Regions from separate parts of the Homo sapiens genome. Here regions 2, 3, 4, 5 and 6 are each linked to region 1. Evidence: promoter capture Hi-C in 16 types of primary human blood cells and fetal thymus (Javierre and others, 2016). All regions are on one chromosome and are shown on one strand. The core of a region is centred on a gene start or on the middle of the fragment in contact, and the rest is flanking DNA. Distances in the headings are between cores, read along the strand shown. Region 1 holds the start of LCOR (ligand dependent nuclear receptor corepressor). Region 2 overlaps PIK3AP1 (phosphoinositide-3-kinase adaptor protein 1). Region 3 overlaps PIK3AP1 (phosphoinositide-3-kinase adaptor protein 1). Region 4 overlaps PIK3AP1 (phosphoinositide-3-kinase adaptor protein 1). Region 5 overlaps PIK3AP1 (phosphoinositide-3-kinase adaptor protein 1). Region 6 overlaps PIK3AP1 (phosphoinositide-3-kinase adaptor protein 1).

The links. The method cuts DNA at HindIII sites, captures the fragments that hold promoters and counts their contacts. A CHiCAGO score of 5 or more calls a contact.
Region 2: a fragment that was not itself captured here is called in contact with the fragment with the promoter of LCOR in region 1 in 4 of 17 cell types (total B cells, naive B cells, total CD8 T cells and 1 more); the score reaches 8.1 in total B cells.
Region 3: a contact is called between a fragment that was not itself captured here and the fragment with the promoter of LCOR in region 1, in 2 of 17 cell types (neutrophils and total B cells). The highest score is 6.4, in neutrophils.
Region 4: a fragment that was not itself captured here is called in contact with the fragment with the promoter of LCOR in region 1 in 12 of 17 cell types (naive B cells, total B cells, neutrophils and 9 more); the score reaches 22.0 in naive B cells.
Region 5: a contact is called between a fragment that was not itself captured here and the fragment with the promoter of LCOR in region 1, in 4 of 17 cell types (naive B cells, neutrophils, total B cells and 1 more). The highest score is 7.6, in naive B cells.
Region 6: a fragment that was not itself captured here is called in contact with the fragment with the promoter of LCOR in region 1 in 4 of 17 cell types (neutrophils, total B cells, naive B cells and 1 more); the score reaches 6.0 in neutrophils.

Annotation. Positions count from the first base shown.
Region 1 is chr10:96,830,079-96,834,608 of GRCh38, reverse strand. LCOR (ligand dependent nuclear receptor corepressor) reads right to left here and starts at 2,311. Exons shown (of 8, transcript NM_001346516.2): 1 at 2,210-2,311; 2 at 1,130-1,203. LOC102723665 (a long non-coding RNA gene) reads left to right here and starts at 2,151. Exons shown (of 1, transcript NR_135921.1): 1 at 2,151-3,977. RefSeq lists enhancers at 358-1,071, 1,072-1,787, 1,788-2,502, silencers at 1,249-1,488, 1,529-1,588, 1,629-2,348, 2,359-2,408, 2,429-2,728 and a cis regulatory region at 3,764-3,963. The HindIII fragment of the contact is 14,888 bases long and covers 1-4,530 here.
Region 2 is chr10:96,598,131-96,602,660 of GRCh38, reverse strand. It overlaps PIK3AP1 (phosphoinositide-3-kinase adaptor protein 1), which reads left to right. Exons shown (of 17, transcript NM_152309.3): 16 at 263-381. The region is part of intron 2 of LOC105378443 (a long non-coding RNA gene); the gene reads right to left. Among named protein-coding and RNA genes, the nearest start is that of TM9SF3, 13 kb to the right of the region's middle. The HindIII fragment of the contact is 318 bases long and covers 1,880-2,197 here.
Region 3 is chr10:96,616,276-96,620,805 of GRCh38, reverse strand. It overlaps PIK3AP1 (phosphoinositide-3-kinase adaptor protein 1), which reads left to right. Exons shown (of 17, transcript NM_152309.3): 12 at 249-454; 13 at 4,095-4,167. It also overlaps the pseudogene RNA5SP324. Among named protein-coding and RNA genes, the nearest start is that of TM9SF3, 32 kb to the right of the region's middle. The HindIII fragment of the contact is 537 bases long and covers 2,326-2,862 here.
Region 4 is chr10:96,636,066-96,640,595 of GRCh38, reverse strand. All of the region lies in intron 8 of PIK3AP1 (phosphoinositide-3-kinase adaptor protein 1), which reads left to right. Among named protein-coding and RNA genes, the nearest start is that of TM9SF3, 51 kb to the right of the region's middle. The HindIII fragment of the contact is 2,021 bases long and covers 1,740-3,760 here.
Region 5 is chr10:96,651,878-96,656,407 of GRCh38, reverse strand. It overlaps PIK3AP1 (phosphoinositide-3-kinase adaptor protein 1), which reads left to right. Exons shown (of 17, transcript NM_152309.3): 4 at 3,566-3,710. Among named protein-coding and RNA genes, the nearest start is that of PIK3AP1, 66 kb to the left of the region's middle. The HindIII fragment of the contact is 449 bases long and covers 1,980-2,428 here.
Region 6 is chr10:96,674,316-96,678,845 of GRCh38, reverse strand. The region is part of intron 2 of PIK3AP1 (phosphoinositide-3-kinase adaptor protein 1); the gene reads left to right. Among named protein-coding and RNA genes, the nearest start is that of PIK3AP1, 44 kb to the left of the region's middle. RefSeq lists an enhancer at 1-69. The HindIII fragment of the contact is 4,185 bases long and covers 1-4,044 here.

The sequences.
Region 1 (4,530 bases), core at 1,062-3,561:
TTCCAGCATTTGATACTAACCCACAATTCTGAAAACGCATTAATTTCATGCTTCTCAAAACCTGCTATATGCTCTCTTCTATGATAGTCCGAAATACCAAGTAATTCAAAAAGTACTTAAACCGACGTAACATTTTAGTACATGCATAATAATACTTTGAAAGAATAAAACAAGCAGAGATAGAGCAGAGTACAGGATAACTGATAGGCAAAAGGCTGTTTGTTTCCTGGAGGGCAGCACTGGTCTTGGATTGGCAGGAGGGGAATTTTAAAATATATTCATGAGACGAATTATACCAAAAAACTGACTCATGCCTTTATTATTTGCACAAGCATATGTTTGAAAATGCACTTTTAACCTTTGGACAACCAAACTGGTATCAGATACCTTAAAGCATTGTTGCCTATATTAATTTCGGTGTTACAGTCTAAATCCTTAACGAAACTCACGCTATACATTTTCGTAATGAAACCCTGTAGAAATGGAAAGGCGTATATTCTTTAAGTAAAGGTTACCTGATTTTTCACTTGTTTAAAGTTTCAATTTTGCTTTTTAATCTATTATCGAAAACATCCCTTGTGGGACATTGTAAAGGGCAGACCCTCCTGTCAAGCCAGAAGGCTCAAACACAAAGACACTGAGCTAACCAAGTGCTGTAATTCTTCCAAACTGAGCCTCTCCACACCCCCTCCACCCTTCCCCCCAACAGATATGTCTATTAAATCAGTGTCTGTTCTCCCCCTCGCACAACAAAGAGAACTTCTCACCGCATGAAATTGCCGCTGAATGGACACCAGAAAGCAGGATTTGCATAATTCCTTCCAACGAAACCCTGTCGGGAAGGAGGGAATGAGGGGCCCAAGCGAACGGATAGACTCTCCTAGATTCTGCCGGGAAAGACCTGGTTCCCAAGAATATTCCCCTGGGGGAGAAGGGGCTGGAATTCTGGGCCTCCCCGAGGACTGGGCGTGGGGGACAGCGGACGACGAGAGGGCATCTCCCCACACACCAGCAGCACCGAAGCAAAGACGGGGAAGTAACAATGCTGGAGGACAGGAGAGTCAGACACAAGGATGGACTGGGGCTAGGGGGCGGCGGGCGGAGCGGAGACACCACACGGGCCACTTACTTTTTGGAGGGGGGTTAAATATATGAGTTAAGCCCTTATGGTCCCGCCGGCCGCCGCACAGAGGGAAACGGGACCTTGGGAGAGAAAAACAGACAAAACACACAGTGTGAGAGGCGCAGCTCGGCCGCCCGGCCCCTCCCGGGGCGCCCCCGTCCGCGCTCCCTCCGGCCCGCAGGGAAAAAGCCACCCGAGGGCGGCCCAAGGTCCGGGAGGCGGGGGGCGGACGGGGCATTCGGGCGAGGCTGCGGCTCCGGCCAATCCCCGGGAGGGGACGAGAGCGACCCCCGCCGGGGCTCCTCGGTCGGACCCGGTCCCACCCCCTCCTCCCGCAGCACGACACCGAACACAAATACGCACACACCGACCCGTGCGTCGAGGATTAACTCCCCGGCCACCGCCGCCCGCTGAGGAAGTGCAGCCGCTGCCCCCCGCGGCCATGACACCCCACTTGGCTCGGTCAGGCGCACCCGGGGACTGTGACAGCTCCAGCTCCCTCCGCCCCCATCTCCACCTCACGCTTCGCACACGCCCGAGCGCCGGGCGCCCGCCTGCAGCCCGCCGCGCGTGCACGCAGACCCGGGGGCGCGCCCCGCGCGTGGGGGAGGGGTGGCGCAGGAGGAGGACGGCGGCGGCCACAGCGCGGGTGGGGGCCGAGCACGCCCGCGCCCCTCGCGCCTCCCCCAGTACAGCGGCAGCGCCGCGAGGCGAGTCGCCACAATAAGCCGGCGGCGGCGCCGGGGCGCCGGGCCTGGAGCGGGAGCAGGGGCGGGAGCGGGGAGGGAGGGGAGCGAGCAGGCGGGGATGGAGAGCGGGAGGGGGAGGAACCCGCGCTCCCGCCGAGAGCCAGCCCCGGGGAGGCGCGCGGAGGGGAGGGGCCGGCGCGCGCTCGGCCGAGCAGGGGAGCCCGCCTGGAGGTCGCGCGCGCTCACACTCCGGGGGGTGGGGGAAGGGGGGACGCTCGAGCCAAAGAGGGCGGGCGGGCCGGAGCAGCAATTGCCACTTCCCCAGCTTCCTCCCTGGTCTGGGGCGACCGGCGGCGGGGCGGCCGGAGGGGCGGCGGCGGTCGGCGGAGGGTCTCACCTACACAGTGAATGAGCTTGTGGCGCCACGAATCCAGTTCTTGCCGAAAGCCGCGTCTCTCAACGGAGCATTGCTGCCGCCTACACACCCTCGCCATCTTCTGCCGCCCGCCCGGCCCAGCCTCCGCCGCGGCCCCGCGCACGCCCAGCCGCGTCGCCCGGGGCCGCGCACGCACCCGCGGCCCGGGCGTCGCGCCTCCTGCCGGGGGCGGTGCGGGGGCAGGGCCGGCCTCACCTCACCGTGGCCCCGGCGTGGCCCGGGGGCGGCCTGGGCCCGCTCACCCGCCCCGCGCGCCGCCCGCCGGGCTGCGATCCCGCCGTCCTTCTACGCGGCTGCCGCCGCCTCTGGCCGCCCGGGACGGCGCCTTCCCACAGCCGGAAGTCAGTCCCGCTGGCCCCGCGCCGCCTTCGCACTGTCCCCCAAGGCCACGGCTGCCCCCGCCCTCCCCGGGGCTTTTTGTTTTTTACGCCAGCCCCATTTATCACTTCCAACCTGCCTATCGCCCGGCACCAACTGTTGCAAGTTCCGTAATAACTGCTGCTATGAACTTCTCCGTCGAAACTGCTCCTCCCCAGAGCCTGTTTAAGAAGCAGAAATAAGAATAAATTCCCGGATGCCGGTGGATGCACTGACCTCTAAGATTTTCAAAGGTGAAGTGGATACACGTTATTAAGTCATTGGGAGACATCGCCAACATTGGGAAACCTAGTAAAAAGTGGAAATCGAGCGTTTTAAATAAAAAAAAAAAAAGGTTTCTACTAGCAAGACTGATCGTAGGCGAACTTCTCAAGGAATTTTGGAATATTGTGCCAAAGTGAGAATATTTAATATTTCCAAAAGTAGACTTAACTAGGAATACTTAAAGCAGAGACTATTGGAAATGCTTTAATTTGGGATTTCAGGAAAGGGCTTGAAGAGAAATATTTTATATGAGCAAGCCTCTTGGAATAATTGAATCACCTTAATTTTGTCACTGTTACTTCGAAGAGAACGAGAAGAGAGAAGATGGGAAACGAAAGGAGAAAGGGAAAAGAAATGGGGTGGAAAGAAAAAAGCAGAAGAGATCGCCCTATACCAGTAGGCCTAGTACCCTAGGATTCTGGCCTCTTTCTCCCACCTTTGGTGTTTAAGATTAAGGACAGTGCATTCCTGCTTTTAGAAATTTAAATTTAAGTTTGAAGACTTAATTTTAATTACTGTAGTAGGTAAAGCAAAGTCGTTAAATACTTGACATCAGGATCCCATTGGAGTATTGATTTAGGTCTTTTCAAAGGTGGTGGTCCTGGTTCTCTGCACCAGCCACTGGCGGAATGGCGGAATGGTGTATCTACCAATGAACAGATGGACTGGGTGGGCCTCGGGTACGGGTGGCTTGAGATGCAAATGCAAGGGTAGGAAGGCACCTTCCCCCCCACCACTCCCAGCCCACCCCGCCAATCTTAAAACATTGATCTTTATAAAATTCGCAAACGTCCCACAGGATTTCATTGGCTTAAGAGTATTGTCAAATGAAGACGCCAGGAAGTATTGAGTTTCTGGGTACATAATACTGTCCTGAGTGTTGAAGGAAGAGGACTAATACGAGATTTTAAAAAATGGCTGTGGACAACCATCCTTCAGGTGTGATGGCAGGACATCTTGTATCACCTGAAACTTCCTTTTTTCGCCGCTAGGTGGTGGGTGTGAGTCTTTTGCGGCCTTTAAGTTTCTACGGTGTTTGGAGGAAATACGTTTCAGTTTCAAATAAATGAACAACGTGTAACTCTAAGATGAGTAAATAATCAATGTGTTTTCCAACCACCCCAAGTTAATTTGTTTAAAAAACAATCAAACCAAGGGTAATAATTCCTCGACATAATCTCTTAGTCCCAGACATATGGATTCAGAGAATCCTAGAGGCTTCAGAGATCAATTTTGTAACTTAAGATATGAAATTGGAAGCCCAGACAAGTAAGGTGATTTGACCAAGATTACATAGTTGCTGGGTAGAGAAAGGGCAACAAAAGCCAGGAGACAAGTTTCCCAATTTCCAATTTAATGCTAGTTTTACTACTCTACTCTGAGTTCCAATTTCTGCTTCACTTATTTTGAGTTGGGAACTAACTCATGGTTGACCTATCACAAAGACCTATTTGGAAGAAAGGATAGGGAGGCAATAGTAACAGCTAATATTCATTGAGCACCTATTATATGTTTATCATTGTTTCATTCCATCCAGATAATAATGCTATGAGTATATATTTACCACATTTTCCAAGTTAGGGACACAAGACTCAGATGAGTTAAATACATTTGTCAAGATCACATAGCTACCAAATTCT
Region 2 (4,530 bases), core at 789-3,288, 230 kb after region 1:
CGGCCACAGAGCACACTTTGAGTAGCAAGGAATTAGAATTCAGGCAATTAATGATCATTGGGGCCAGATTGTCTTCCTCAGTGCCTCAGTGACTTCAGGAAGAAATGGAAAGCTGCCAGGTATGGCTGGGTTGATTATCAATTTGCAAACAACCTTCAGCCCCAGCCTAAGGAGGACCAAGGGGCTTTTGAGTTACGGTTGTCCAGCTATGCTGGTTGCTGAATGTAGTTTTCGCCTTTCTTTCTCATCTTCTTTGCTGTAGGATAATGAAGTCCCTGAGGTTACCAGAAGTCGCAGTCCAGGCCCCCCACAAGTGGATGGGACACCCACCATGTCCCTCGAGAGACCCCCCAGGGTGCCTCCGAGAGCTGCCTCACAGAGGTAACATCAAAACTGATATGAAATTTTTCCCTTATCTCTGAATCCTAGGGGAGAATAGGACTTGGAAACACCTAAGATGACTAAAGAATAAGCGCAGAGCTGGGCGCAGTGGCTCATGCCTGTAATCCCAGCACTTTGGGAGGCCAAGGCGGGCGGATCACAGGGTCCAGAGATCAAGACCATCCTGGCTAACATGGTGATACCCCATCTCTACTAAAAATACAAAAAATTAGCCGAGCATGATGGCACACGCCTGTAGTCCCAGCCACTCAGAAGGCTTAGGCAGGAGAATTGCTTGAACCCGGGAGGCAGAGGTTGCAGTGAGCCGAGATCATGCCACTGCACTCTAGCCTGGGTGACAGAGAGAAACTGTCTCAAAAAAAAGAATAAGTACAGAGCTAATTGAAATGCCTACTCCATTGGACACATTTCAATGTGGACCCTTCATTAATTTAAGTGATGCATTATTTAGTTGCAAATACTTTAAATAGCAAATGCAATGTTTCATAAATGAAATACATTGAAAAATGTCAACTTTTAAAATTGTTTTTATCAGTTTGGCTAGAATTCAACTCTCCAATAACTAATTCCCTTGGCTGGACTGTAGGGACAGTGCCTTTTGGGGAACAGAAAATATGAAGGAATTGGAAATGAAAATGCAGGTGACAGGCTACATCGTATGGTGGTGGGAAGCCTGACTCTAGAGCCCCCCTACCTGGGGTCAAGTCTCCAGCAGCTATTTGCAAACTTGCAAGAACTATTTAACTTTCATGTATTTCAATTTCCTTTTTTTTTTTTTTTTTTTTGAGATAGATTCTTGTTCTGTTACCCAGGCTGGAGTGCAGTGGTGTGATCTCGGCTCACTGCAACCTCCGCCTCCTGGGTTCAAGTGATTCTCCTGCCTCAGCCTTCCGAGTAGCTGGGATTACAGGTACCTGCCACCACGCCTGGCTAATTTTTGTGTTTTTAGTAGAGACAGGGTTTCGCCATTTTGACTAGGCTGGCCTCGAACTCCTGACTTCAGGTAATCTGCTCGCCTCAGCCTCCCAAAGTGCTGGGATTACAGACATGAGCCACCATGCCCAGCCTCAATTTCCTTGTCTATAAAATGAGGATAATAACAGAACTTTCTGCAGAATCATAAGCATTGAGTTCTTGGCCTATAGTGAGAACTCAGCAATATAAGTGATCTTTTTTTTTATACAGGAGAGGAGTTAATATCTAGAGATTTGGAGATGAGCATTAGACTAAAGAATTTGACTAATTTACTAGATTTTGATGTATGCCTTTGTTTATATGATACTTGGGCCTCTGGTAGGAACCTTTTTATGGTTCAGTCTTGTGGAGTAACGGAAAAAGTGGTCACAGCTAGCTGTGTGTCCACAGATGCAGAAAGGAGCCCTTGGGAATAAAAGCCAAGGCTTGTCTGAGGAGTTAACTCTTCGATGTTTAAAATAAAATGTTCATGTGTTAATGGGGCATAAGGAAGGAGGAAGCTTTTCTTCAACCAGGGTTTTGTTTTGATTTTTGCATTTTGAAACTTTTAGATGAAGCTCATCAGTGGAATTTGTTGAGAAAGTGCAACAAGGAGGTCTTTCTTCTGGTGTTCTGGAAAGAGAGGCTGGCTCTGTGCTAAGGATCTTTCCATTTCTCCCTTTGCTATTTATCACTTTCTCATGCGCTCCCAGCAACATTTGTGTGTTGGCACTTGCTACTCAAACATCGCCCAGGCCCAGGCTGTGCCACACCCACCGGGCATGCTTTCCTGGTGTAGACTGGAAGGCACGGATTAGAATATTAGTCCTGGAAGGAAGCTTAGCAGTAATCTAGTCCCATCCCCTGAATTTGCACTGTGCTCTGTTGCTTGAAAATTATCACATAGTTGGTGATTGGAGGGCTTACCAAGAGCAGTGATGGTGATAAATGCTGTTATTTATTGAGACTTACTATGTGGCAGGTATTCCGTTAAACATACTAAATGCATTATCCTGTTTAATTCTCTCCACAATCCTAAGACGTAGGTATTTAGTGTTATCCCATTTTGCAGATGTAGAAACTGGGGCTTGAGATTGGGCTGAGACTTGCTGTGTGTGGCAAACCTGCCAGACTTCATCTCATAGGCATTGTTTTATACCTCTCCAAGAAAGTCTCAGTATTAGGGGAGGAGGTTCAAGATCCAAGGCCTTTTATTCCTGAAGGTGAGGACTTTGGAAGCAGTTGTCTAATTGTACCAAGATAAAAGAGTTGTCAAGTTTAAAACTTTAGCTACAAGGTTTCGGTGGGATTTTGTTAACAGAAGAGAAAGAGAAGACAACCGGGGAAACAGGTTCCAAAAATTAAAGGATAGAAACTAGGAAGCATGTAAATGTGTAAAAAGAGATGGTGGTTGAGTTGTTTGGGGAGTCTGGAAGCAAGTTGTGATAGAGATGGGGAGAGAAAAGGAGGAAAACATTTTTTGCTAAAGAAACAATGTTTACGAAGCAGTTTGTAATTGATAGAACTTGGGGTTTGGGTGCATTTTTGGTGTGAAAAAAGATGTGTGAGTATGCAATGTTCACAATAAAATACGGGGATATTTGAGCAGATAATAAAATGGGACTCTCTCCAGAATGACTTCAATGTTTGACCTGCTTATAGACAGGATTGAAGGCTGGCCTTGGTGTCCTAGACTCCACTGTCAGATCTGGGCATCAGCATCTCTTCTCTGCCCGTGTTCTAACCTCCCTGCTAACCCCTGGCCCAAACCAAACAGCACTGGTAGTACAGCCTCCATCCCACTCCATCCCGGTTCTGGTCCTTGCCTCTGCTCACTCTACATGCTATCCCAGAGCTTGAATTGCCACCAGCAGACAAAGACCCCAAGTCTCCATCTCCATCTCAGCCTTCTCTTTCCTGCAGTTGACTGGGGATCTTCATTCAGGGACCCCACCAATATCTCAAACATAGCCTGTGCAAAACTGAACTCATCAGCCCACCTACCATTCTCTACCCCAAACTGCCTTCTTCTCATGAGTTCCCAGCCTGAGATAGTGGGACCATTCTCTCCCTTCCCCAAGCCCCAAACCTGGGAGTCATCCTTGATCCCTGCCCCCCTCACAGCTCTCATATCCAGTGTGTCTTCATGCTCTGTCCGTTCTGCTGCTCTTTCAGCTGTCAGATCCGCCCTCCTTTCCATCTGCTAGTGCCTAAGTTCATTCTTGAAGGCCCACACTTACCTCCCTTCCTCCAGTCACTCCCTCCTCCACATTGCAGCCAGAGTGCCCTTTCTAGAACAGGAATAGCTGATGATGCCATTGCCTGGCATAAAAGCCTTCACGTTTAATTCTGTGTATTTCAGCATTCTTTGGCTCTGCCTAGCTCAAGTCCTGCCCCTCTCCTGTATTCACCGATGATCTGCCACTTCAGCATTCCCAGTGAGCTCTGCCACTCTGTACTGTTTCTTTGCCCAATCTGTTCCTTTTGCCTGGAATGCTGTCTTCCTACTCCCTTCTACTCTTGCTTAGAAAATTCCTATACATCCTTTAGGACTCAGTTCAAACATCACCTCCTCTGTGAAGCCCTCCCTAATGTTCCCATGCGAGTGAATCTTCTTTTGGTTTCCCAAGCACTTCTATTATATTCTATACTCTAATAATACACTCTGTGTTGCGACCCTTGTGTAGATGTGTCTCCTCAATGAATGGCGAACCTGTGAGACACCATTTTTGACTTTTAATTTTTTTTCTCCTATCCCTAGTGCCTGGCAGAGTAAGTGGCACATACTAGGAACTTAAAAGGTACTCACTGTGTTAAGTGAATGGATGGAAGGATAGATTGGTACTGTTTGGGTTGGACTTCCGGAGCTCTTAAAAAAAGTAGCCATCAAGTCATCTACCACCGTATGCAGGGGGGTTATAGATGAGTGAAAGAAACTTCACACTCTTGGCCAGGCACAGTGGCTCATGCCTGTAATCCCAGCACTTTAGGAGGCTGAGGCAGGGAGGGAGGGATTCCTTGAGCTCAGGAGTTTGAGACCAGCCTGGGCAACTTGGCAAAATCCCATCTCTACAAAACAAACAAACAAAAAAAATTAGCCAGGTGTGGTGGTGTGTGCCTGTAGTCTCAGGTACTCGAGAGGCTGAGGTGGGCAAATTGCTTGAGCCTGGGAGT
Region 3 (4,530 bases), core at 1,345-3,844, 210 kb after region 1:
AGAGTCAGCAGATTTCACGCCTCCCTTAAATGTTGCAGCCTTGTCTACTTCAGTGTGATAGGCCTTGGAATTATTAGCTGCATTCTTCTCCCCTGATTTTATGTTGTATCTCCCCCTTCTTGGCCACATGTAATTGTTCTTTTGAGAAGAGTCCTCTTGAGCCTGTGACCAGCCTCATTAACCGTACACTTCTGGTGAGTGGTCCCCAGTGGGGGAGCTGTCAAGCTGAGTTTTGCCATCCTTTCCAGGGCCGCCCGTCAGACCATGGAGGGACAGGCCCCAGTCGAGTATATATGACCCTTTTGCGGGAATGAAAACGCCAGGCCAGCGGCAGCTTATCACCCTCCAGGAGCAGGTGAAGCTGGGCATTGTCAACGTGGATGAGGCTGTGCTCCACTTCAAAGAGTGGCAGCTCAACCAGAAGAAACGATCGGAGTCCTTTCGTTTCCAGCAGGTAACTAGCTTCGTATGGAATTTGTTTCATGTCTATTTCCCCACTTGACAGTAGAGGAGGGCTGGGCCATGGCTGTCTTGTGTATTGCTGTACCTGGACACCTGTGGCTGTGCCTGCGAATGTTTGAGTTTCATTGTGAACCAGTGAGTGTGTATGAGTGTCACCTCGGTCTGTAACCACATGGCTCCCTGGCTGAGAGCTGGGTAGCTTTTCCAGGTACCATGAGGCTTGAGATCAGGAACAAAGACTCAACTACAAACACTAACTCTGCTGCTGTGTCTCTCTGCATTTGGCTCCCTGCTTCTGCTTTCCAGCTTTTTTCTTTTCAGAGTCTCTCTCTCTCTATTCCTACTGCCAAATACCCTCATAACTATCACACTTTATGACTCAAAGAGAACTTGGAAAACTCCCAAGAAATATGATTAAATGAACAAAACAAGTTGCAGATACAAAACCACCCAAATTAAAACAACTCAGACACGTCCACACACAAACTCTGTATTTCTATGGACATGTATATAAATGCAAGGACAAAGATCTGGAAACGGCCACTTCGGGCCCATTCCAGGGGCCACCTCTCAGGAGAAGACTGGGATTGGAGGACTGGGGTGTCAGAGGAGACTCTTGCTCTACCTGTATAGTTTGAAGCTTTTATGAGAATATATAACTCCATACCTGTATCATAAGTGTACATGATGTATAATTAAAAACAAAAAAAGAACTCAAACTTAACCTTAGGAAGCTCATTCTTAGTCCACCAATGCCTTTGTATTAAAAAGGAGGAAATGGGGCTCAGGAGGTTAAGGGACACGTCCAAGGCATCTTTCCTAGTGAGGGGCCGAGTCAGGACTGGAACTATTGCTTTCTCTCTCCACCTCCCCAGGCTGCTTCCTTCAAAGTACTAGCCAGGCCCGACCCTGCTTACCCTCAGAGATCAGATGGGATTGGGCGCGTTCAGGGTGTTATGGCTATAGACCCTGGTGGTGTGTATTCTAATCTCTGTTCTTACGCTATCTGACATACCAGCTGTCAAGGCGGGGAGTAAGCAGCACCCGTCCAGGGCTGAGATAGGAGCCTGTCTTCTGGGACAGGATTAGTGGTGAAGAGTGGGGAAGCATGTCATCAGGCCGCATTTGCTGACCTCCGACAGTGCTATGTTAGGCATTGTGCTCAGCGTTAAATAGACCTGATCTCTTTCACTCCTCATACACGCATATGAAATAAGTATTACTCCTCCTGTTCTACAGAAAACTGAGGCTCAGAGAGGCGAAGAGGCAGTCAAGGTTCAAACCTCCCCTTTCTCACCCCAGAGCCTGTGCTCCCTTCACTATGCCTTCTGCCTTTTTAGTGCTCCTTAAGACAGGGGCACCTGCTCTGCCAGCTGCCTCCCTCCCTTTTGGGGCCTGAAGGGTGGGAGGGCACTCTGGAGAGCTGAATGCAGGAATCACGGGTGCTTTTCACTCAGGAGCCCCTGGGAGGCTGCAGTCCTGCTGAGAAAAGGCTGGCCCTGGCTAAACAATGTTTTTTTGCTCCTTGCCAAGTTGTGCAACCACGTGGCACAGTAGTTAAGAACAGCCAGGGCTCTAGAGCTGGCAGCCTGAATTTACATCTTTATTCTGCTATTTGATGACCTTGACCTTGCTGTGCCTCATATGAAAGGGGAGGACTAGGTGATATAAGCTACTGTAAGCAGCATAACTGGTACGTAGTAAATACATAATAAATGTTAGCTCTCTTTCTTTTTTTCTTTTTTTTTTTTTTTACATTTTCTTGTAGTGTAAGGTAATTGCTAATATGAGGTATAATCTGTAAGCAATTAATACAAATATAAATAGGTATAAGCCACCACTAACTCAGTCTGCTGGAAAGCTTCTCAGCTAAAGTAGTTTGAGGATAAGGTTAAGGGAAATGAGAAGGGGTGGACAGGGCAGGTTTCCAGTGGGAACATAATTTACGTGTCTTATCATTACCATCATCCTGTATGTACCAGTCCATTGTTGCAGAAAGGTAAATCCTTTCCAAGTATGGTTTTTTTGTTATCGTTGTTGTTGTTATACTTTAAGTTCTAGGGTACATGTGCACAACGTGCAGGTTTTTTACATAGGTATACATGTGCCATGTCTTTCTGTGTTTCTATCCAAGAGACCTCTTCCCTTCCCATGAGCTGGTCCAGAACTCTTGGGCATAGCAGACGACGGGTTTATATTTAATACGGCAGAATCCCAGCTCATGGGGGCTCACATTGTTTGGTTCCCTGAGAGCCTCTAGCCACTTCCTGAGCATCTCCCCTTCAGGGGCTGGTGGTGTGGAGACATTCCTGGGTGGAGGCCTCATCTTCCTTTTCCTCTGCCTCTCTGTCCACTCCTCTGTCTCCTTCACGTCACCCTCTCACAATGGACATTGAAGCTTTCCTTCAGCTCCTTCTCTGTGCAGTCTGTGTCTCCAGTTCCATGTTTCCAGCCCCAGTTGGCTTTGTCCCCCTGAGTGCCCCAGGCTCACAGCATGTCTAACAACAAACCATCCCTCAAGGCCGCTTTCCTTTCCCAACAGCCTCTCTGTGCTCATCACAGAGGAGAGGGAGATCAGACCTCAGAGTCTCTTTGGCCTTCTCCCGTGCTTCCGCTCACCCAGTCAGCGGTGTGTCCTGCTTGGTCCTGCTCTGCGGCATTTGTCCTCTTGCATCTGCTCCTGTCTCTCCATTCCCCCAGCCACATCCCCATGTCAGCTTCTGTTGCCTGCATCTGGCATACTCCATAGTCTCCAGGAAGGTCTGCTGGCCTCTGTTCCTTCTTCTCTAGTTCACTAGAACCTTAAATCCATGACAAGCTCACAGTGTTCAGTGTTTCCCTGCTGTCTCCTGGACACAGGTGAGTCTCTTCAGCCTGCAGCTGCAGACCAACCCCCCTTTCCAGTTTGGCCTCCTGTGACTCCCCAACATGAACCTTCTGCTCCAGCCAGATTGTCTGGACATTTTCCCTAGAATGCTCAGGCACTTAACTTCGGCGTTATTGTTAATTGACTAAAATAGCAACAATCTTGACCCTTACATGTCTATTCAACATTTATTGAATGACTACAATGGGCCAGATGGCAGGATTATGGAAAGGTACACGACGTGGTCTCTTGACCTTGAAGAGCTCACAGTATCTCAAAGAGGCAAGGCACAAGAGTGTGCACACATGATGGAGCAGCATAGCCCAAGTGCTGGATGGTTGGCATATCTGGGGAGGCTTCAGGGAGAAAGTGGGCCTTGATCCAGACTCATGGAGAAGAACCAACATCCATGAAGGTCAGGGGAGTGATGTGAGAACACAGTCTCAGAGACAGGAATACCTGTGGAGTATTTGTGAGCTGGGCTAAGAGGCATACATGAGAGGGGTCATATAGAACAGAGCTGAGAACCAGAGGGGAGGAAAGACACTTTCTTGTGGAAGAGATGTCTTCTCTTCAGGCACAGATTCTGTGAGTATTTGGATTTCTCTGGGGGCTGACTGTGAATGCGCTGAGCCTCATTTGCATGTTGTAAATGTGACTGCAATGTGATATACCCTGCAAACAGCATACAATCTGAAAGAAACTCTCATGTCCAGAGGGTATCATCCTGTTGTACACTTAAAAAATAAACCAAATTTTTTTCCAGGAAAATCTTAAACGGCTAAGAGACAGCATCACCCGAAGACAGAGAGAGAAGCAAAAATCAGGAAAGCAGACAGGTATGTGGCTTCCTAGGGTGCTGCATTGTGTGGGACATTGCTGTCATCTGTTGTCCTTGACTCTCCTTTTGGCTGTGGCCTGAGTGGGCAGACCACTTGCCCAGCACTCGTCATACTGTTTACAGATCTGGGTCCCCCACTAGACTGTAAAGGCCTTTTGGACAATGGTTATATCTTATTTATTCTGTAAACAATCTGGTACCTGGTACATAAGACATGCCCGGAAGTGAATAAGTGGATTCAACTCTGCATGCTTCCACCTTTTCACTCAAATAGGATGGTGATACTTCCTCTGCAGACATCTGACTCTCCCCTTGGCAATTAGGAGGACTTATGTTTTTTAAGCAGAGAAAGGAGAAAATC
Region 4 (4,530 bases), core at 1,501-4,000, 190 kb after region 1:
AAGGACAAGCTTATGCAAACATTAAATAAAACTCAAGGCAAATGTCCGTGGGTGTTTTCACTATCTCCTCATCTTTTTCTCACTTAGTTCTTTGTCCCCTGCCCTTACCTTGGAGAATGATATGGTAGTCCTGGTGGTCCCTGGACCTAGGTAATTAATTTTGTGTTGAAAGCTTGCCCAGTGACTGGTCACTTCTCTGAGGCTCTGGGTAGAATGGCCTTGGGGGGGCAGTTCTGGGAGGCCCTTGTCCAGTCTGTTTCCAGGGTAATCTGCTTTGTGGGTTGTAGCTTTGCTTCAATACCCGAGAGCCTCATTTTTCTTCCATAAAGCGAAAGGAGCGAAAAGAGAAAGGCATTATCATCTTGCCGTTAGAAACTGCAGACTCACTAATCAATCCCAGAGGACTGTTCTGCTTCATGTTACCCCTACATTGAACTTTTCTTCTGAACCCCTGATCCCTACCTCATGGTTCTGTAGCTCAAGTGTTTATGTAGTGGAGAGCTGACTTAGCTCTAGCTAACTTGCCAGCTTCCCTTAGCAACCTCCCTGGTAACTGGCATCTTTGTAACAGATCATTTCCAGCAGTGTTTTCTTTACCTGAGCTCTCTGATTACAGCCCCTCTCTGCAAGCTGGGTTCCATCTGAGCTGGGGGCACACTTGGGGACTGTAAAGGACCTCACAGCCCAGCCCTGTAGGTCTGAAACCAACTGAAGGACAATTTGTATGCAAAATGACTACATTACTGGTTTGCTTATGAAACATACTGTCTCTCCTATCTGCATCCTTTTCTCTCAGGAGCCTCCCTCCCTGTGACTGCTGAGGCTCTGTCATCCTCCTGCCATCCCTTTTGGCAAGATTCTGGCGAGTAGAGCCAAGAGATGCTTCAAGGCCCGTGGGCCTGGGTGCACAGCATGAGTTCTTACCTGCAAGGACAGAACCCACTGGGGAGCAGGGAGATGAGCTCAGTGTACCTCTTGACTTCCTGTTGCTTTTTGCTCCTCCATAAATACAAGAACTATGTTGGGGACATAGGGACTTAGTGAAAGCACACTGGATTGAATGTTTTAACATTTAAAGATAAAATCCCCATCGACAGCAGCAACCTTGCTCCCCTCTGAACCTGCACAGCTTGCAGGTCACGCTTACCTTGGGACACTGCACACACATCCCCTTGGGCTCTAGTTATATACGTGCTTCTCTGGTTACCCTCTCCTGGCCTCGATAGGAAGCATGTCTTACAGCTTTGTATCATCCACAGTGCCTATCCCAGTGCTGTACACAATAGGTGTTCAGCGATTTCTTGAATTTGAGCTACCAGAAAATAAGATGTAATTCTCGACTTTGTGGGTGGAATAGTGTGTCAGTATTCCAGTGTAAAGACCTCACCCACCTGATAGGTGGTACTGAGACATCTGTTAGGTGTCCCCGAGTGTGAGACATCTCAGGGTGGCAGTAACTCCATTGGTCACTACAAGCTGCCTTTTCTTTCATGTTCCCTTGCATTTGACTCTTCCTTCTGCCTAAATTGCCTTTCTCTTTTCTCGGCTTGAGAAATGCCCAGATTCCTTCACAAAGCCCAAATGCCTTCATATTCATGTGTTCATTTGTTTTTCCTTTATTAGTTCGTTCATTCATTCATTCAAAAATATTTTTCAAACCTCTCATGTGTTTAAATCACGCTGTGCCAGGTGATGATGAGTCAGTAAACAAGCTGGCATGAAACTTGCCTTTCAAAGCTTACATTCTAGTGAGAGAGCTGAATATTAAACAAAAACACCACATAACTGAATATATAACCACAAACTGTGACAGTGCTGTGGAGGAAAAAGACACTGCTTTGAGAATGCAGGTGGGACTGTGTTCAGGTGGGCTACCGCGTGCGACTCACTGCACAGCACCACAAATGCATCCCATAGACTCACTCCTGCATGGCAGAGGGTCTTTGTGCTTGCCAGGGGTACTGTACTGAGGCATTTGTCTGCATAAGAAAACCACAGAACTTGTTTGCAGCTTCTCCTAAACTATTTATCCGCAGCCCCTTCTTCATTGCCAATGCCAGCCATCACTCATTAGCCCTCTAATTTTACACTGCTATTCGTGTGTGTGTGTGTGTGTGTGTGTGTCTGTGTGTGTGTGTGTCTGTGTGTGTGTCTTAGTCCGTTTTCTGTTGCCATAACAGAACACCATGGACTGGGTAATTTGTAAAGAAAATAAGTTTATTTAGCTCACAATTCTGGAGGCTGGGAAGTCCAAGAGCATGGTGCTGGCATCTTGTGCATCATAACATTGTGGAAAGTATTCACATGGCAAAAGGGCAAGAGCAGGAGAGCCAGAGAGGTCTTGCTATTACAACAAAGCTACTCCTGTGATAACAAACCCACTCTCACGATAGCAACATTAATCCATTCATGAGGATGGAGGGATTAAGTTTCCAACACATGAAATTTTGGGGCACACATTCAAATCATGGCACTCTGCTCCTAGCCTCCAAAATTTGTGTCCTTCTCACATGCAAAATACATTCATTCCATTCCAGTTGCCCCAAAACTCTTAACTCGTTCCAGCATCAACTCAGAAGTCCAAAGTACGTAGCCCAAAGGCCTCAGAACCAGGAAGCTGATTGTGTAACTCTCAGTCTGAGCTCGAAAGCCTGAGAACCCAAGGGGAGAGCAGCTAGTGTATGTCCTGTAGTCCAAAGGGTGGAGAGCCTGGAGTTTGATGTCCAACCAGGAGTAGAAGAGTGTATGGCAGTGTATGCCAGCCCCTGGGGAGAGACCAGTTTGCCTTTTGTCTGTTTTTGCTCTATTAGGGCCCTCAGCTGATTAGATGATGCCTGCCTACCTTGAGGGTGGATCTTTTCTACTCGCATGCTCCTTTTCTGGAAACACCCTCACTCTAGGTATTTCCTAATATAGTCAATTTGGCACCCAAAATTGACCATCATAGGCCACGCATGGTGGCTCATGCCTGTAATCTCAGCACTTTGGGAGGCCAAAGTGGGCAGATCGCTTGAGTATAGTAGTTCAAGATCAGCCTGGGCAACATGGCGAAAACCCACTTCTAAAAAATTTTTTTTAAATTAGCCAGGCATGGTGGTGCATGCCTGTAGTTAAGGAGGCTCAGGTGGGAGGATCGCCTGGGAAATCAAGGCTGCAGTGGGCCGTGATTGCACCACTGCACTCCAGCCTGGGTGACAGAGTGGGACCCTGAATCAAAAAATAAAATAACTATCACAGAGTGTGTGTGTGTGTGTGTGTGTGTGTGTGTGTGTGTGTGTGTGATTGTATATCTCTCCCACATCTTCCTCTCCCTCTTTCTTCCATCCCATTAATTCTTTAGGGTACAGAAAAGCTAGACTTTCTTACTGACATGGTCAGTCAAACCATTCTACCTGGAGGCAAACTGACCCATTGTGTTCCAGGTTCTCTTCAAATGTTTGGCTACGATGCTCCTTGCTCTAAGGCTCTCTTTTTGGCCACAAAAGATTCTTGCTGGAGAAAAAAATTCTTTTGGCCTACTTTCAGGGTTTGAAAGCCTTTCTAGAAGAATAGTCTTTCAGTAGCTGACATTTCACTGTGTTATATACTCACTTGGTTTTCTATTAAATTAACAGCATATAATCTGGATGGAGTTTCCACTGCAGCTAAGTGGTCTGTGTCCCAGGAGGAGTATCATATGGGTGTCTTTGAGAATTCACTATTGCTGTTGATTCATTCTTTAATTAAGTGCCTGCCTGGGTGTTCTCTCACTGTTCAAGCTTCTTGCATTCCAGGAGTGGGTTCTTTCTGGCTGACTCCTCAAGTACAGTGCAGTGTGACTCTATAGCTGGCTTTTCCAGAAGGAGGCTGTGGCCCCAGAGTCTCCTTATCATTGTTGTTGTTTTTCTTTGCTGAAATGAAAGAACTTTGCACTTTCTCCTCAGACCGGCAGGTTTCAGTACATGTTGGTTTATTTTTAATTTGCAAGTCATGAAGTTTAAGTGCTTGGGATCTGAAGTACAAGCCCTGAGCATCCAGGAATGCAGGGATTTGTTCTGATTTCCCTCCCAAAATGCTCTTTGTCTAGAAACAGACTCCCTTCACTTAACAGAGTTTTCTGTGTAGTTCACTGTATGCCCGGGTTATGTGTACATGTGGGGTTGTCATATTTAGAGCCTGAGAGGGTTTTATCACTCATTAACTCCAGGTAACCAGGTACCTTTTAAAAAAGTGTTATTACAAAGATAATATGTGCTACTACCAGGACTTAGTGCCTAATTAGGTATGGAAAAGAGCATTTTAAAAATAATTTCACATGCCAAGGCCAGTTGGCCAGTATTTTTTTCTTTTATAATTTTTTTTAATTTTTGTATTATTTTATTTATTTATTTATTTTTTCTGAGACGGAGTCTTGCTCTGTCACCCAGACTAGAGTGCAGTGGCACAATCTTGGCTCACTGCAACCTCTGCCTCCCGGGTTCAAGCAGTTTTCCTGCCTATCCTCTCTTTAGCTGAGATTACTGGTGCACGCCACCACGCCTGGCTAATTTT
Region 5 (4,530 bases), core at 955-3,454, 180 kb after region 1:
CCATCACTGGCCACTGCCATGGCCCAAGGAAGTGCCTTGAAGCTTGACGGCTGAAACCAACTGGCCAATATTGCTTTTTAAAGGGATCAGATAAATGCCATACATCATATGACTAGCATTTTCAGGGGTGGGGCATACATTACAGATGACTTGAGTGTGAGGGCCCAACTGATGAGCCACTGCCATTTGAATCCTACCTTAGTACTGATGGTTTTTCTTTATTTTTCCTTTCCTAATTAAAAACGTGTGGCATTTATGATAGTTCAGAGCAGCAGAATGCTTCCTTTATGGATACAAGCTCTTTGCTAAGATGGCTTTGCAGGCTCCTTGAGGCGAGACAGCGTGGGAGCCTTGGCAGTGGGCAGCACTGGCTTCCTCACCCTTGTGGGTGGTTTTGTGCAGGCTGAGGCCGTGAGGCATTGGGCAAGCACTTCCTACGTGGGGTTGCCAACTGTTTCTTTGGGCCAGATTTAACTGATAGTCATTGTATTAGTCTGTTTTCACGCTACTGATAAAGACATACCTGAGACTGGGAAATTTACAAAAGAAAGAGATTTAATTGGACTTACTGTTCTACATGGCTAAGGGGGCCTCACAATCATAGCAGAAGGCAAGGAGGAGGAAAGGCATGTCTTACATGGATGGCAGCAGGCAAAGAGAGAGATAACTTGTGCAGGGGAACTCCTCTTTTTAAAACCATCAGAGCTCATGAAACTTATTCACTATCATGAGAACAGCACAGGAAAGACCCGCCCCCCCATAATTCAATCACCTCCCACCAGGTTCCTCTCACTGGGAATTGTGGGAGTTACAATTCAAGATGAGATTTGGGTGGGGACATAGCCAAACCATATCAGACATGTTTGGTTTGGACTGCACAGTGTTTATTTATTTATTTTTTGAGACAGAGTCTGTCTCTCTCATCCAGGCTGGAGTGTAGTGGTGAGATCTCAGCTCGCTGCAACCTCTGCCTCCCAGATTCAAGCAATTCTTGTGCCTCAGCCTCCCAAGTAGCTGGGATTACAGGCACACACCACCATGCCTGGCTAATTTTTTTTGTATTTTTAGTAGAGACGAGGTTTCTCCATGTTGGCCAGGTTGGCCTCAAACTCCTGGCCTCAAGTGATCCATTCACCTCAGCCCCACAAAATGATGGGATTACAGACATGTGTCACCATGCCTGGTCTAGACTGCATAGTATTTTAAAAGTTAGGCATTGGCTGGGCACAATGGCTTACACCTGTAATCCCAAGACTTTGGGAGGCCGAGGCGGGTGGATCCCTTGAGCTCAGGAGTTTGAGACCAGCCTGGGCAACATGGTGAGACTCCCATCTTTATTTTTCTATTTTATTTTAAAAAGTTAGGCATAAAAATCTGTGTTTCCAGCTTCCTTTGAATCAGAATCTGGTCATATTAGGCCTGAGATGACTGGCGGGGGCCAAGCAACCCTGTACATGGGCCATGCATCCCCCAGTTGGCGGGTCCCCACAGTCCCTGTTCTTTATACAAGGCCTATCTCACTCCTTTGCCTTACTGGCCATGCCTTTGTGGACATTTCCATTTTAAATCTTCCCATGCCACTTTCTGCTTTCCCCATGCCCCTCTGGTCAGGCTGTTGGGTGCCCATGGGTAAAGGGGGTTGCCACCAAAGCATTATCTCCTTCACTCTCCTCTGTGATTTTTCCAGGCTCTCATTCCTTCTCCTATCTTGACTGCCTGTTATCCCAGGATTCTTGTTGCCGATTTCAGGCTTCTGGATCCTGGGGAGAGGGGAAGGGGCAGGCCGGGGTTTGGTCCTGACTGTCAGTAGAGGAGACACACATTCTCATTGGCTCCTCATGCTCCCTGGCAGAAGGTGTAGGTGGGACAAGGCTGGGCCTGCAGCAGGAGGGACGACCACCACAGCACATGTGTGTGCAGCCTCAGCAGCCCCAGGAGCCAGGATCACCCCCCACATCACGTGTCATAAAGTCCAAGCTTGCCACACCCTCTCATGGCCCTTGTCATGAAGGGCTAATCTGAGGACTTTATAGCAGAGTCTTAGGAGGAATATCTGGGGATTCGCTATGGCCAGGAATCTCTCCTTTCCCCATGTTTTTTGGAGAGCCTGCCCTCACCAGTTCAGACTGAGAGGCTCATTCCCCCCACGTAACCAGCACAGCAGAGTCAGTCCATTTGGCAGGCTTAGTGTGAGATCTTAAAGCAAGCTAAAAGAGCTATTCGAGGCGCTCGATGGTTTGGGAAAATTAATCCCCCGAGAAGTTCTTTTTGCCCAGTGGTAAAATCCAGGACTGCATGAAGAGCAGAGCCCAGGAGGGCTTCTCTCAGGCTGCAAAGTGCACGGGTGTCACCTGGGCATCTTGTTATGATGCAGACTCTGGCTCAGTGGGGCCAGGAGGGGCCTGAGACTCTGCATTTCTAACAAGCTTCTGGGGGATGCTGATGCTGCTGCTCCCTTGGCTCCGCCTTGAGTAGCAGGACTGGTCCAGAGCAGGGCTTCTCAAGCTATCTGTGGCGAAGGACTTCTAAAAAGATGTCCAATTCTGAAATGGACCAATGATTTCATTAAAAACAATGCAACAGAAATGCTATGCAAAATGAAATCAAAAGACATATAAATGGCCAGGCGCGGTGGTTCACGCCTGTAATCCCAGCACTTTGGGAGGCCAAGGCAGACAGATCACCTGAGGTCAGGAGTTCGAGACCAGCCTGGCCAATATGGTGAAACCCTGTCTCTACTAAACAGAGAAAAATTTGCCGGGTGTGGTGGCAGGTGTCTGTAATCTCAGCTACTAGGGAGGCTGAGGCATGAGAATCGCTTGAACCTGGGAAGGTGGAGGTTGCAGTGAGCTGAGGTCATACCACTGCACTGCAGCCTGGGTGACAGAGTGAAGCTCTGTCTCAAAAAAAAAAAAAAAAAAAAAAAAAGTGTATAAAGTATCGGCCTTAAGGTTTTTTTTGTTTGTTTTGTTTTGTGTGTGTGTGTGTTTTTTTTTTTTTTTGAGACAGAGCCTTGCCTCTGTTGCCCAGGCTGGAGTGCAGTGGTGTGATCTTGGTTCACTGCAACCTCTGCCTCCTGGGTTCAAGTGATTCTCCTGCCTCAGCCTCTTGAGTAACTGGAACTACAGGCACCCACCACCACTCCTGGCTAATTTTTGTATTTTTAGTAGAGGCGGGGTTTCACCATGTTGGCCAGGCTGGTCTCAAACTCCTTACCTTGTGATCCACCCACCTCGGCCTCCCAAAGCGTTGAGATTACAGGCGTGAGCCACCGCGCCCAGCTAAGTTTTATTATTATTATTATTGTTATTATTATTATCAGCTTCAACAGACATAAAATGACTCCATCCAATTGCTATAAATATTTACTCTTGGTTTTTGTGACTTGTCTCGTTGGGACTGGTAGCAAACAGTTCACTGCCCAGCACTGGACCACTGAGTCCACCCTGTCCCCAGAGATTCTCACTAGGTAGAGCTAGGGCAAGAGAGCTGGGGAGACCCTTGGGCCCAACACCCTACGGGGATCTGAGAGGGAGAGGGGACAATGACCGGCTTCCCGTTTCAGGCAGAAACCACTGTCTATGTTATTGTGAGATGTAAGCTGGATGACAGGGTGGCGACAGAAGCAGAGTTTTCTCCTGAGGATTCTCCCTCTGTAAGGATGGAAGCCAAGGTGGAGAATGAGTACACCATTTCAGTGAAGGCTCCCAGTAAGTAGTCCCCTGTGAATGTGATGACATAGGGCTTCATTGCTTATTTGCTATGCTGTCACCAATGCCACCAATGCCAGGTATTATCATCTTAAATATGTTTGCTACTTTGATTTTTTTTTTTTGAGACAGAGTCTCGCTCTGTCTCCCAGGCTGGAGTGCAGTGGCATGATCTCAGCTCACTGCAAGCTCCACCTCCCAGGTTCACGCCATTCTCCTGCCTCAGCCTCCCAAGTAGCTGGGACTACAGGCACCCACCACCACACCTGACTAATTTTTTGTATTTTTAGTAGAGACGGAGTTTCACCATGTTAGCCAGGATGGTCTCAATCTCCTGACCTCATGATCCACCCGCCTCGGCCTCCCAAAATGCTGGATTACAGGCGTGAGCCACGGCACCCAGCTACTTTGATATTTGTTAAAGAGTAGTCCATTGTTTTCATATGCATTTCTTTGATTACTAGTGTGGGTGAATATTTTTCCATGGTCTCTGTTGTCGCATTTCCTCTTTTGTGAATCTCTGTGGTTGGTGTTATTTTTAATTTTCTCTTGCCCCCTCAAAACCCCTTCCTGTGGTATAGCATCCCGCCCCAGGGAGAGTGCGTAGTCATGACAGCAGCTCATGACTTGCAGTGAGCCAGTTCAGCTGCCCCAATGTGGCAGAAACACAGTTTCACCTCCCATGATTTTTCCCTCCTTCTGTGACCACTGGCCTTTGTGTAAAGTGCCTTAAACCCGAATTTTCTTCCTGTTCATTGAGGCACTGGGCCTACAGTAGTGAGTAAAAAGATGAAAATTTTTTGAAAATTAAGTTGCAAAC
Region 6 (4,530 bases), core at 703-3,202, 160 kb after region 1:
TGAACAAAGAGGAAATAAACTATATTGTGACTGCAGGGTTGGCAAAACACTACATACAAAGGACTACAATATCATGAAAAGGAAAAGTGAAAAGGAGGAAGGTGTTGAGGCAGTGGGCACAGAGGCTCAGAGGAGTGGTGGAGAGGTGGGTCATAGGTTGCAAGATCCCAAGGAAGGAATTTTCTACCTGTTTTAACCCATGCTCCCTTTTGACTCACACCCTCCTTCTATAGTGCATTTATTAAAATAATAGTTTAAAATTTTAATTATAGTATAGGCCAGGTACAGTGGTTCAAGCCTATAATCCCAGCACATTGGGAGATCAAGGTGGGAGGATCCATGGAGCCCAGGAGTTCGAGACCAACCTGGGAAACATGGATAAACCCTGCCTTTACAAAAAAAATTTTTTTTGAGACAGGATCTCACTCTGTCACCCAGGCTGGAGTGCAGTGGTGTGATCTCGACTCATTGCAACCTCCGCCTCCTGGGTTCAAGCGATTCTCTTGCCTCAGCCTCCCTAGTAGCTGGAACTACAGGTGTGTGCCACCACGCCTAGCTAATTTTTTGTATTTTTAGTAGAGACGGGGTTTCATCATGTTGGCCAGGCTGGTCTCGAACTCCTGACCTCAGATGATCTGCCCACTTCGGCCTCCCAAAGTGCTGGGATTACAGGCATGAACCACTGTGCCCAGCCTACAATTTTTTTTAATTTAAATTAGCTGGATGTGGTGGCATATGCCTGTAGTCCTAACTACTCGGGAGGCTGAGGTAGGAGGATCATTTGAGCCCAGGAGGTCGAGGCTGCAGTGAGCCATGATCACACCACTACACTCCAGTTTTGGCAATAGAGCAAGCAAGACTTTGTCTCTAAAAATAAATAAATAAATAAAATTGTAATATAATATTGGCTATGCTTCTAAAAGCTACACAATTTCTCTATTCTAATTCATCATTCTGGCAAGACCTTTGCAAAAACTCTCACCTCCCTCTGAGGTGATGAGAACCCCTGGGACAGATTCTTCTTGATCCTGATCCCAATGTTGATTAGGTTTCCAGTGGTTTCTATAACTGTACCTAAATGAACAGTGAAAACCATGTTTTGTCCTCACGCTTGTGATTCTAAACCGGAAAGTGTGTTGTCTCACTTCATATCTTGTATTGCACGTGACCAAACTGTGTTTGTTGGAGATAAATGTTTACAGAAGGTCAAAGGCCTTTTGTGTGTGTGTGTGTGTGTGTGTGTGTGTGTGTGTGTGTGTGTGTGTGTATGTGCTTAGTGAGGAGGTAGTTAGCAAGGCCAGTGGACTTAAAGAGCATCGGGGCAGGACAGACCCTCAGAAATCACATAGTTATTTTCCACTCTGTCTTAATACAGAGGAAGACAACTGGACTCTGCCAGGGGAAGTGGCTCACCCAAGGCCAAGTGGTGAATGGTGGGTTTTTGAACAGTTGACCTCGGGATATGAGTGTGAGAACGCCCAAGTTTTACTTCAGGGTATCATTTCTTAAAGAATTTGGATTTGCAAAGAAACCAAACATGATTGGTTTTTCAATTGGTGGGAAGGATAAATGCAAACAAGAGGCAAAAGAAGGTGTTGTGTTGAGGCTAGTTACTGAGTTTGCCAATACTTTTATGTGTCACGGGGGCAGAAGATGGCTGAATCGGTGTTTCTCCCTGATGATGGCAGTTCCCCCTCTCAAACACTGGGCATGTCTGGCATCAGGTGGGCTCAGCCCTTCCTCACTCTGGCTTGGAGGACCAGTGGAGAAAAACAAACCGTGTTCAGAGATGGGCTCGGTGCTCCTGCTGGAGGCTGTGTGAAGAGTGGGCGGCCTGTTCTCCTGCCCTGAGGCTTTCCCTCCACCCCAGCATGACCCCCTCTTTCCTCAGATGGAAAGGCCTAGTTTGGCTTGGTTGGGAGGGTTCAGTCCGTCCTTGAGTCTGTGCCCTATGCTGTCCAATCTCAGGTTGACACCGGCAGCTCAAGGGTTAGATTCCAGCTCAATACGGAAACTTAAAACTCCCTAGAAAAGAAGTCCCTGTGGAATGGAGATGATTATTCTGGAAGATACAACTTGACCAGCTTTGTAAGCTGTTAATTATTAAACAAAATCAATGTTTTTAAGTTTAATTTGGACTCTTTCAGTTGGAATAACTCAAGGTCATTCTTTCAAAAAAAAAAAAAAAAAACCCCAGAAAATCCCCGTGTGTGTTTTTGGTGACCTTCTTGGAAAAGGGAGTTGGAAAAAAGGCCTCTAAGGCAACAGTGAAAGAGGTAAGAGCCTGGCTTCCATGTGTCTGGAGTTCCTTATGTCTGGATTCTTGGTCATTTCTGTCACTAAGACCTGAGGATCAGCAAGGCTGGGAGAGGCCCGAGCTGGCTCAGTTGGGGCCATGAAATCTGTAATGACCTCGGGTCATAGCCAGCCCAACAAGGGGACACTCTGTGACTCTGGTAAGATGTAGGGGCCACCGGCCAGCAGTAGCCAGCAATGACCACTATCAGTTGGCCAAAGTCAAAAAAAAAAAAAAAAAAGCAAGGTCACACAGATAAAGACAAGCAAAGAGTCCTGAGATAGGTGCTTACAATGGATACAGCATAGCAGAGTCTTGTCTCTCAGAGCCTGAGGATGATCCTGTTCTTGGGGTGAAAGTTCCTGAGAATGCTTGCTTTCAGACACAGATGTGGCTTCACAGCTGGCATGGGACAGGCTGAGGACACTGCCAGTGAACCACGGCAAACAGAAGACAGGAGAGGAGTTGTGGTTGTAGGTAGATTCTGGCACAATGCAACCCACCCTGGCAACCCCTCATGGAAAGAGCCAAACTGGGAAAGTCCCTCTGACCTTTCATTTGTAGGCAAACTGGTTTGGTTGTTTGAATTGTGATACTGCCAAACTATGGTTTTAGGCCATGTCCCACGTCCCTATGATGGCCTTATACAATTCTAATACGAGTATGCAACAGTGGGGGCTGTTCTTAGGTCCTAACTGCTAATAGAAGTACTTTGTGAATAATAAATTATTATTATTGTTATTAATATTAACAGAGAAATGACAGCTTCCTTTTATTGAGCACTTACTATGTGGCAGACACAGTGTTCAACAATAACAGTCCTGAGAGGTAGGAATTATAATCTCTATTTTATAAATAAGGAAAATGAGGCTTTAGGAGATCAAGTAACTTGCCCAAGATAGCCATCCAGTAATAGCAGGGACTCAATTCATTTACATGGACCCTAAACTCCATGCTTTGAAGCACTGCCATGTATGTGGTGGCCATGAGAATATGCCTGGCAGATCTCCAGTTGCTGGGAGTAGAACCGACCAAGGGCTCCTGTGCCACCCTCTGAATCCATCATAGCTTTCGACCAAGGCCCTGCTTCCTGCAGGCTGCTCCCAGTCAATAACTGAGCATGGCAGGGATACTAGGCCCATTTCCGGAAGACGCAAGATTTGCCAGTGGCCAACTTCTGTTTGAAGACTCCGTGACAGATTTGCACAACTTTCCTTAGCCTGCTCAGTGGTCTAGGACGCTTCCACCCAACCTTCCTTCCCCCTCTTATTCATTTGGGCTCAGACAGCTACAAGGTTTTCCCACCCTCCCTCCCCATTTTCCTTCCCAGGCACTTTCCCTGACAAAATCCTTATATGGCCGGGTGCAGTGGCTCACACCTGTAATCCTAGCGCTTTGGGTGGCTGAGGCAGGCAGATCACCTGAGGTCAGGGGTTCAAGGCCAGCCTGGTCAACATGGTGAAAACCCATCTCTGCTAAAAATACAACAATTAGCTGGGCGTGGTGACACATGCCTGTAATCCCATCTACTCAGGAGGCTGTGGCAGGAGAATTGCTTGAACCCAGGAGGTGGAGGTTGCAGTGAACCGTGATTGCAGAACTGCATTCCAGCCTGGGCGACAGAGTGAGACTCCGTCTCAAAAAACAAAACAAAACAAAACACCTTGTATGTTTAATCTCATTTTAGCTTTTGTTTCTCGGAAGACTGGGACTAACACAGTGTACCATGCAGAATTTTCAGCGAAGCTTGGTTCACGCTGGTATCATAAATTAGAGGGTTAAACAGTTTCCTGTTTCTCTCCAGATTCCACACTAAAAGCCTCCAGGCACAAAGCCTTACAGTGGTCCTCCCTGAGGTGTTGCTTTCCCTGCTAGTAACTTAGGTGGTTGGTCTTATCTCATTCATCGATTCATCCATTCATGCAAGAAGTATTTATTGATTTCTCACTATATTCTAAGCCCTGGGGATACAAAGATGAATGAATGTCAGGAAATCTGTTCTCAGAGAAATCACAGTCTAGTAGAAGAAAAATTTGGTCAACAGATAAACAACACTAATTGATTTAACTTTGTCTTGCACTTTTCAGTTTTCAAAGGGCTTCTGCATGTTGATCACTTAATTCCAATAAGCCTGTGCAACAAACCAGGCAGGCATAAATAAATCCATCTTAAAGGAGAGGAAATTGAAGCTTAGAAATATCAAGATTACCCAGGAAGTGGCAGAGATGGGACTT